Linked DNA regions of Homo sapiens: region 2 is linked to region 1. Evidence: promoter capture Hi-C in 16 types of primary human blood cells and fetal thymus (Javierre and others, 2016). All regions are on one chromosome and are shown on one strand. Each heading gives the region's core, a stretch centred on a gene start or on the middle of the fragment in contact. The rest is flanking DNA. Distances are from core to core; before and after follow the strand shown. Region 1 holds the start of GPR156 (G protein-coupled receptor 156). Region 2 overlaps GSK3B (glycogen synthase kinase 3 beta).

What was found. The method cuts DNA at HindIII sites, captures the fragments that hold promoters and counts their contacts. A CHiCAGO score of 5 or more calls a contact.
Region 2: a fragment that was not itself captured here is called in contact with the fragment with the promoter of GPR156 in region 1 in 1 of 17 cell types (neutrophils); the score reaches 5.7 in neutrophils.

The regions. Positions count from the first base shown.
Region 1 is chr3:120,282,385-120,286,665 of GRCh38, reverse strand. GPR156 (G protein-coupled receptor 156) reads left to right here and starts at 1,444. Exons shown (of 10, transcript NM_153002.3): 1 at 1,444-1,637. It overlaps LOC124909418 (a long non-coding RNA gene), which reads right to left and starts at 1,510. Exons shown (of 2, transcript XR_007096029.1): 1 at 1-1,510. The HindIII fragment of the contact is 9,811 bases long and covers 1-4,281 here.
Region 2 is chr3:119,917,916-119,921,867 of GRCh38, reverse strand. All of the region lies in intron 4 of GSK3B (glycogen synthase kinase 3 beta), which reads left to right. Among named protein-coding and RNA genes, the nearest start is that of NR1I2, 140 kb to the right of the region's middle. The HindIII fragment of the contact is 4,934 bases long and covers 1-3,952 here.

The DNA.
Region 1 (4,281 bases), core at 195-2,694:
TTGCCAGAAACATCTCAGAGGTAAACATGGCAGGCCTGGAAGATGAAAACCTTCAGTGCCTGGCAACTGAGGGGTTGGAAATACTCCAATCTCAGAAAAGAGAATACTGGGATTGGAGGTGGGGGCCAAGCTGGGAGAAAGATTTCAATGTCTTGCAGAATATAGAGAGGGGTTGATGAGAATAACAGCCGAAGAGCCCAGGGGAATTCCCAGGTTAAAAAAAAAAAGCCCCACAGAGATCAGAAGGGCAAATCCTCAATCTAGAGCCACAGAAGTGAAGATTTGGCTCTAGACTCTGAAGTCAGCTCTCCTACGGAAAAAAGATGGACCCAGGCCTTTTTAACTCAGGCAGCCCCCATGGAGGAGAGAGATGGTCCTCCTCAGTTTCTGCACGTTCCAAATGAAAGGGTCCTTCTGTGTAGAATGAGAGATCTGGAGAGTCCTGGGTAAAATCTCAGACATAATTCTTTCTTCTGAGAAACCAGCTTTTTGCTTACTGCCTTGAGGAAAACCTTGTCTATCTTTCTTTCTTCCTCTTGTTTTCCCCCTCAGTAGAATCCTGTGAAAAGAAGTCTTTGGGTATCACAATGTGTAAAACAGTTAAGAATGTAGCCACTGTCTTGTCACAGTGGGGTCTGCGGACCTGGCCTCTCTCTTCCCGTCCTCTACAACCAAAGATTTCCTCTGCGCAGTTGTAAAAATGTGGAATGTCCTAATGCACATAAATAGGTCTGAGATTTTAAAATAAATGAAACAAATATAATATGGAAAGTCTAAGTGGATTCCCAAGACCATTTCCAGGTCTCCCCTCTATGTTTCTCCTTGAGGGTGTCTTAAACACAACATCTCACACATATTTTTAAGCGGAAGACAGTGGGCTGGGTGCGAACATCTTGTTTGTGGCCTCCTGTAAGCATTCTTGGAAAAAGAAACGTACTTGTCTTTCTGATTATAAAATAAGCAAAAGCTCAACGTAAAGAATTTGGCAACTCCAGAGAGTATAAAATAAGAAAACTAATTGGTAACTCCGACGCCACTCCAGAAATAAAAATGAGCATTCGCGGAGAATCCTTCCAGTCTCCTTACCGAGGCCGGCTAGGGACCTGAATCTGAAGCTCCTCGCCCCGGGGCCAGCTCCTGCGGCAGCCGCTGGCTCGAGGCCCGGGAAGGGGCGCTGAGGGGAAGGCGCCCCCCAGGGAAGGTCTCTGAGGAGACGGCCGGAGGCGGGGCCGCCCCAGGGGACTCGGCGGCGACGCAAGGAGAAAGATCCGAGGAGCTGGAGGAGCCGTGAGGCGCGTGGAGTCTGCAAGGTCCCGGAGCCCTCCCGGCCCTCGCGGGAGAGCAGGGTCGAGGCGCGCCACGCGGGCGGCGCCAGGGAGGGGCGGGCAGGCGTGGCTCAGCCAGTGCCCCGGCCAGAGGCGCCCGGCGCCCCGCGCACACCTCAGAGGCCTGCGCCGCCGTCCCGCCGCCTCCACGCCAGGCTCCCGGCGCGGCGATGGGCGCGGGCCCCTGTCTCTGCCCCGGCCCGCCCCTTCCCGCCCCTTCCAGCCCCGCGAACGCGCGAGACGCCGGGGGACCGTGGGCGTCCTGCACATAGCAGCGGGCTTGGCGCTTCTCGGCGGTCCGACGCTGATGAGGTGAGCACAGCGACCTTAAGGATCCACAAAACTTCAAACACTTAATTATTAAGTGAAAGTGGAAAGGGGGAGGGGCTTTCTCTCCCTTTCCAGAATCTGGGCAGTTTGTTTGGAACCGGTAAAGAAACTCTCATAGGAACTTGAGGTGAGCAGGGGTCACGCATCAGGGATGCGAGTGGCAATTTCAGTGGAAGAGACGGGAGAGTACTGTAATTTGGTGTGAAGATGGGGCCGTGGGTTTTCTGCTGAATAAGCGACCGGCTGTGCTGAAAATGAGAGATCCCGAAACAGTTTCCCACCGCCTGTAGACTTTCCAGAGTCTCCTCACGCCGAATCTGCTTTGCAGGGCATGTTCACCCCCAGGGTGTAGAGTGGCGGGCACGATGGGCTCCCCCATGGAGATTGCAAAGTCCTGAAAAGGGACAATTGTATTGCACTGCGTCTGTTGAACTGCCTTGCTTCTGGGCATGAGGGAGTCACCTGGAAGCTGCAACATCCTTGTACCCTGGCAAGCAGCCCTTTCCAAGTTAGCTCTGTCAGAAACTAGAGGCCTCTAGGTAGAACTCAAGGTATCCATGTACTCGTGAAGAATACAAACCTTGAGGTTTTTAAAATCGAATTTTGTTAAGATTTCAGGATAGAAATCTGGGAAGAGAAGTCATGGCATGGCATAACTTACCCCTTTGTTAGTTTTCTAGGTACATGCATGCTTGAATTAGAGGTAAATGATGCCCTAGCCTATCATAAAATGTCTTTCCTGGTGTAGTTCTTTAAACCAGAATATGGAGGATAACATTACATTTTTGCATCCTAGATAAAAGGGAAAGATTTTCAGATGGGGCTTACACAGCGGGAGAAATTGTTGATATAGTTGTATTAGGCAGCAAGGCCTGCAAAGAAAAACTTCTTTTTCTCCACCAGTGGCTGAATTCTGCACAGAATGTCTCCTCGCAGTCTGGGTAGCAGCCCGGCTTGCAAAAACAGTGCTTCTTTCATTGCTGCAGGTGGGGCAAATGCGCTTGCGGATAAATGGCTGGGGAAGCGTTTGCTTACAGGTTAAGGCAATTTGAGTCTGGAGAATAAAGTGCTTTAGCAGGCTGTGCTTGAGTTAGGTGTCCCTTGTGAGGAATAGAGGTGGCTTTCTGGTCCCCATTTTGCCAGCCTAATTCCCCTTCAGGGACACTACTGTCTCTGGAATGTTCCCTCTGTTTCCCCTTCTCTTCCACCCCCAGCTTTTAGCTTCTCCCCATTCCCCAGTAAAGTCTAGAATTGAGCCTGGTCAGAGTCAAAGTTCTGATAGCCTAGGGATATAGAACTTCAAGCCTGGTGAAGGCAGAAATGAGACCTAGGAGAGACCCAAGATGGGTGAGATGAAACAACTTTCAGCCTAGAAGGCTCTCAAAAGAGTGGAAAAATAATGATTGAGGGAAACAGATTCTCTGGAAAGGAGAATAGGTGCTTAAGTGTTTGTTTTCAGCTGAGGGTTTTAATATTTCCATTTTTGTTGTTTAACCATAAGGGAATTTCCATTATAGGGTAGGAGGAGGATGAGGCCTTCTCTGAAAACTGCATCCTTCTCCTTGAATTTGCATTTTATTCCATTCTTATGTAGGTTTCAGAGATTAATTGGGGGAAGGGGGAGAGAGGAAAGAAGCCAGAGGCTCTGACATGCTGCAGAAACAGTGCAACGTGGACTGACTTGGGCTGCAAAGGTGGATTTGGGGGTTGAAAGAAATGTTCTACATTTAGTTGAAAAAAAAAAATCAGAGCCTTTATTTTGCAAAGGTCTTGAGAATCAGAACATTCATGTTTAGTTGCTGATGAATTTTGCCTGATAAAGGATGCAAATCACTATCTCACCTTTTTTTCTCCAGTACTTTATTATGAAAAATTTTAGACATACAGAGATGTTTTCTACCTCTCATTTTATAAACTTATTATCTTAAAACAAACTTGTTAATAAAAATCAGTGTTTAGAATCCAGACATATGTGATCTGGTCCTGGACAGAGCTTGAATCAGAAGGTGTTTCAAATATAGATGTGTGAAGGATATTAACATTTTAAGAAAAAAATATGGATCTTATTCTTCTGACTTTCCCATAAGAATCTTGAGCAGACCCCTTAACTGCCTTCTTTTTCCCATTCTTAAAATGTCAGTCAGTTGGATGATATTACTCTCCTGCTTAACACCCTCCAATGGCTTCCCCTCACACTGTGAATAACATTCAACTCTCCACCAGGGCTTGTGATTTGGTCTGGTGCCCTCATATTCTATGGCCGTCCTCTTGCTTACCATCGTCCTTGCTCTTCCCTCTGCCTGAACACTCTTCCTTCAGACACTGCCACTGCTTCTTTTCTCAGCTCATTCCAGTTTCTTTTCATACTCTCCAGAATGATGGCCACCTGATCTAAAACAGCCTGTGGTCACTCCCTGTCTTCTGACCCTGCTTTATCCTTCTTCATGGCACTTAGCACTCCCTGACACTATATAGTATATGTGTTTCCTTGTTAATTGGGCATGTTCCCCACTCTAATGTAAACTCCATCAAGACAAGGAATTTTTTTGTCTTATTTATGGCTGTGTTCCTATTTGGTATATTATGAGCAATTAATAAATAACTGTTGGATTAATTAGGTAACTAA
Region 2 (3,952 bases), core at 470-2,969, 370 kb after region 1:
CCACGCCTGGCCAGGATATTATTTTTTAAAATGTAATTAAATTACCATTGTCATACCTATGAAAATAAATGGTATTTCATTAGTGTCATTAGATACCCAGTTTATATTTGCCTATGACATAATTTTTTTAAGTTTATATTTTTGAATTGGCATTCAGTTAAGGTTTATATACTGTGATTGGCTGATGTGCCTCTAATGTTTCTTTTAATCCATAGGTTCTCTTTTTCTCTCTCTTGAACTTTGTTGCTAAAGAAACCGGATCATTTGACCTATACTTTCTTGGTCTGGATTTTGCTGAATTTCTGTAGTGTAATTAGTATGTTCTTTGGTCATCTATATTTCCTGCAAATTGGTGGTTAGATAACTGATAATTAAATATATTTTTGGTAGGAGTCAGGACCACTTCATTTGTAGTATTGAGTGCTTTCTGAAGGAAGAACATAATGTCTTTCTTTTCCTGACGTTAGTAGCCATTGATGATCACTGCCTAAATTCATTAATTCATTAAAGGTTACAAAATGTTGATAGTCTACTGTTATTATTCCTTCTTAATTTATAAGCTGGAATAGTTTCATAAAGAGAGATTTTCCCATATCAACTATTTGTGCCCTGAGATATAGTTTATATAAAAAGACAGGAAATGTATTTGATCCCTTTTCTTTATTTACGAAAATTTATAATAGTCTATTCCATAGCATCCTCCATAGGTACCAATGAATGAGGTGTTTTGTTGTTTTAAAGTATCTTATGTGAGTCTTAATAATATTTGACCGTTTCCTTGCTTTCTAACATGACAAAGTATTCCAAGTTCATCTTACACATTTCTTCCTCAGACTTAGAATCAACCTTTTCTTCAAGAAGACCTTGTTCTTTTAGTGGGAGGTGGTATTTAGAGACCACAGTCTGGATGCTAGAGGTGCTAATTGTCACGGGATTGGTTATTGTTTCTGGGTCTTTTTAGCGAACAGAGCTAGGAAATATGTGGGTAATTTTCTCAGATGTAATGCATCTTCTTTTTTTCCAAAAATAAATACACCATGAGTTCATACTGATACTTTCAAATAAAATCGATGAGTTTTTACTTAACTGTAATAATCTTATATTTGTATTTCCTTTCTCTTACATTGAAAATTTCATTTCTCAATGATAGTAGTATAATTAATAACTTATTCTACCCAGCACCCTACATAACCATCTTAGAATAACAATTCCAACACTAGGACCACCAGCTAAAAATAATTTAAGATCTAAGCACAGCTCAGTTTTACCCATTAGATCCCATTAGGGATGAACAATCAAATTTCTCTGTTCTAAAGAAACACTGAGGTCAGGCACATTGGCTCATGCCTGTAATCCAGCATTTTGGGAGGCTGATGTGTGCAGATCACCAGAGGTCGTCAGGAGTTCAAGACCAGCCTGGCCAACATGGCGAGACCCCACCTCTACTAAAAAATATAAAAATTGGCTGGGCATCCTGGAGCACACCTGTAATCCTAGCTACTCAGGAGGCTGAGGTAGGAGAATCACTTGTACCTGAGAAGCAGAGGTTGCAGTAAGCCAAGATCATGCCACTGCACTTCAGCCTGGGTGACAGAGCAAGACTTCATCTCAAAAAAATTGAATAATTCCTCTCTGTGTGATGATGTTCCATTAAGCATTTGTTTGTTTCAGTTTACTTTTATTATAGATTGTGGTTTTCTAAATTTTCAAATAAAATTTACTTTAAAATTCATATAAAATATTTATACATAGTTCAAAGCAAGATTGACAAAACAAGGTATGTTCAAAGAAGTTCAGCTTTTATCTCTGTTCCCTCTGCTCTGTTCCTTTCCTCTACCAGTGTTAAGTATTTTTTAAGTGTTCATAATTTATCCTACCATTTTTAAAATAAGCAAACATGCAGTTATTCTTACTCTTTTTATATAAATGGTTACATAAGGTACACATTTTTCTCTTTTTTTTCAGTTAAAAATATGTCCTAGAGATCAGTCCATATTTTCGTGTGTGTGTGTGTGTGTGTCACCTTCTTTATGGCTACCATATTACTTCATCATGTGGCTGTATTCTAGTTAATTCACCCAGTGACCAATAATGCACATATTGTTTTCCTCTTGTTTTTTGTTGTGGTTTTTTTGGTTTTTGCTATAGTGAACAACCCTGTGCACTTACGGTATTTTTGCCAGCAAATAGTTGAGCTAGATATCTGGCATCCTGTATTTTAAAAAAGAAAATAAAATTATTGTACATACTGAAGTTGGCATACAGAGAGAAATCTAGCACTCCTTTCTTTCTCCCCCTTGTGGGAAAAGGGATGATTTTTCTTTTTTTTTTTTTTCTTTTTTTTTTTTCTTATGTAACCACAGCGCTTTCAGAGGCCAGATCTATTGGCTCTGGGCATTATTCTTTGGGGACATCGATCCCTTTTATCTGAAAAGATAAAAACAGTGTCTGGAATTGATGAGTTATGAGTTGATCTCCTTCACGTAGTCATTCTACATAGTTTTATTGTAATCCTATTGTATGAAAAATGTTAGATTGTGAGAGCGATATAAAAGTAGTAAATGCAAGTAACTCTTGCCTTCATGAACCTCATCATCTGATAAGGACTTGTTTGGCATACATGTTACCAGAATGGCAACTGCATTTCTTTATAATTGCCTTTCACTTTTTCTGGGAGAGTTGAGTATTTTCTATGAGTAATACACAGGTTAAAAACTGAGCACCTTTGCTTTTCTGATGAGTATATTTCAGAACTTAAGTAGGTTTTAAAATGCAACTCTAAAACAGATGACTGGCAAATCATTGTTGTGAACTTAATTTTTTTTTAATTGAAAATACATGTTTAAGGACAGGGTCTGATCACACAAGAGAGTTGGATGCATTTTTTGAATCATGAACAAAATTGTTATTACTTGTTTTAACATGTATTCTATTGTTTTATTATTTTATTACTTCAGATATTATGGCACAGAGAAGAGGGCATTGGATTTGAGTTAAATATAACTAACTGTTCAAATTGTGCTCAACTGCAAAATACATTCCTTTCTGTGATATTTTGTCCTGTAACTGAAGCATAGTAATTGTTTTATGGAAATGTTAACAGTTTTGTACCAACTTTGAATAAAATGAAAAATAAAAAAAATTGTTTTCATTGAACCTCAATATCTTCTGTAAAAACAGGGATAATGTGTATCTCAGAGTGGTTGCAAGAATTAACTAAACAAATAGGCAAATAGGCAGAAATGCTTTTCTTGGTTTGGCACTTAGTATATGTTAAATCTGTTATATTTTAAAGTGTGTTAATTATATTTGAGTTTCTAAGAATTAATCATTCTAGTCTTTTATTTAGCCACCAAACTGCTTTTTTTTTGTTTTGTTTTGTTTTTGTTTTTTTGAGAGAGAGAGAATTCCGCTCTGTGGCCCAGGCTGGAGTGCAGTGGTGCATTCTGGGTTCACTGCAACCTCTATCTCCCGGGTCCAAGCAATTCTCCTGCCCCAGCCTTCCGAGCTGGGATTACAGGCGTGCACCACCAAGACCGGCTAATTTTTTGCATTTTAGTAGAGACGGGGTTTCACCATGTTGCCCCCAGGGTGGTCTCGAACTCCTGAGCTCAGGCAACCCGCCTGCCTTGGTCTCCCAAAGTGCTAGGGTTATAGGTGTGAGCCACCGCGCCCGGCCTCCACCAAGCTATTTAATGATTATATTTTACACCTTTATTTAATAAAATATGGCAAAATACATAAATAGTAATTGAAAGAGAAGCACTTACTCAAACCACTACAGAATATTGTGTGTGTGTGATATTGAGCAAGTTGCTTAATCTCTCTGGGCCTCAGTTATTTTATATTTAAAATGGTAATAATATTAGTACTTATTACATAAGGTTATTATAAGGAGTAAGTGAAATAATACACATAAAGCAGTTAGAACAGTGCCCAGCCCATGATAAGT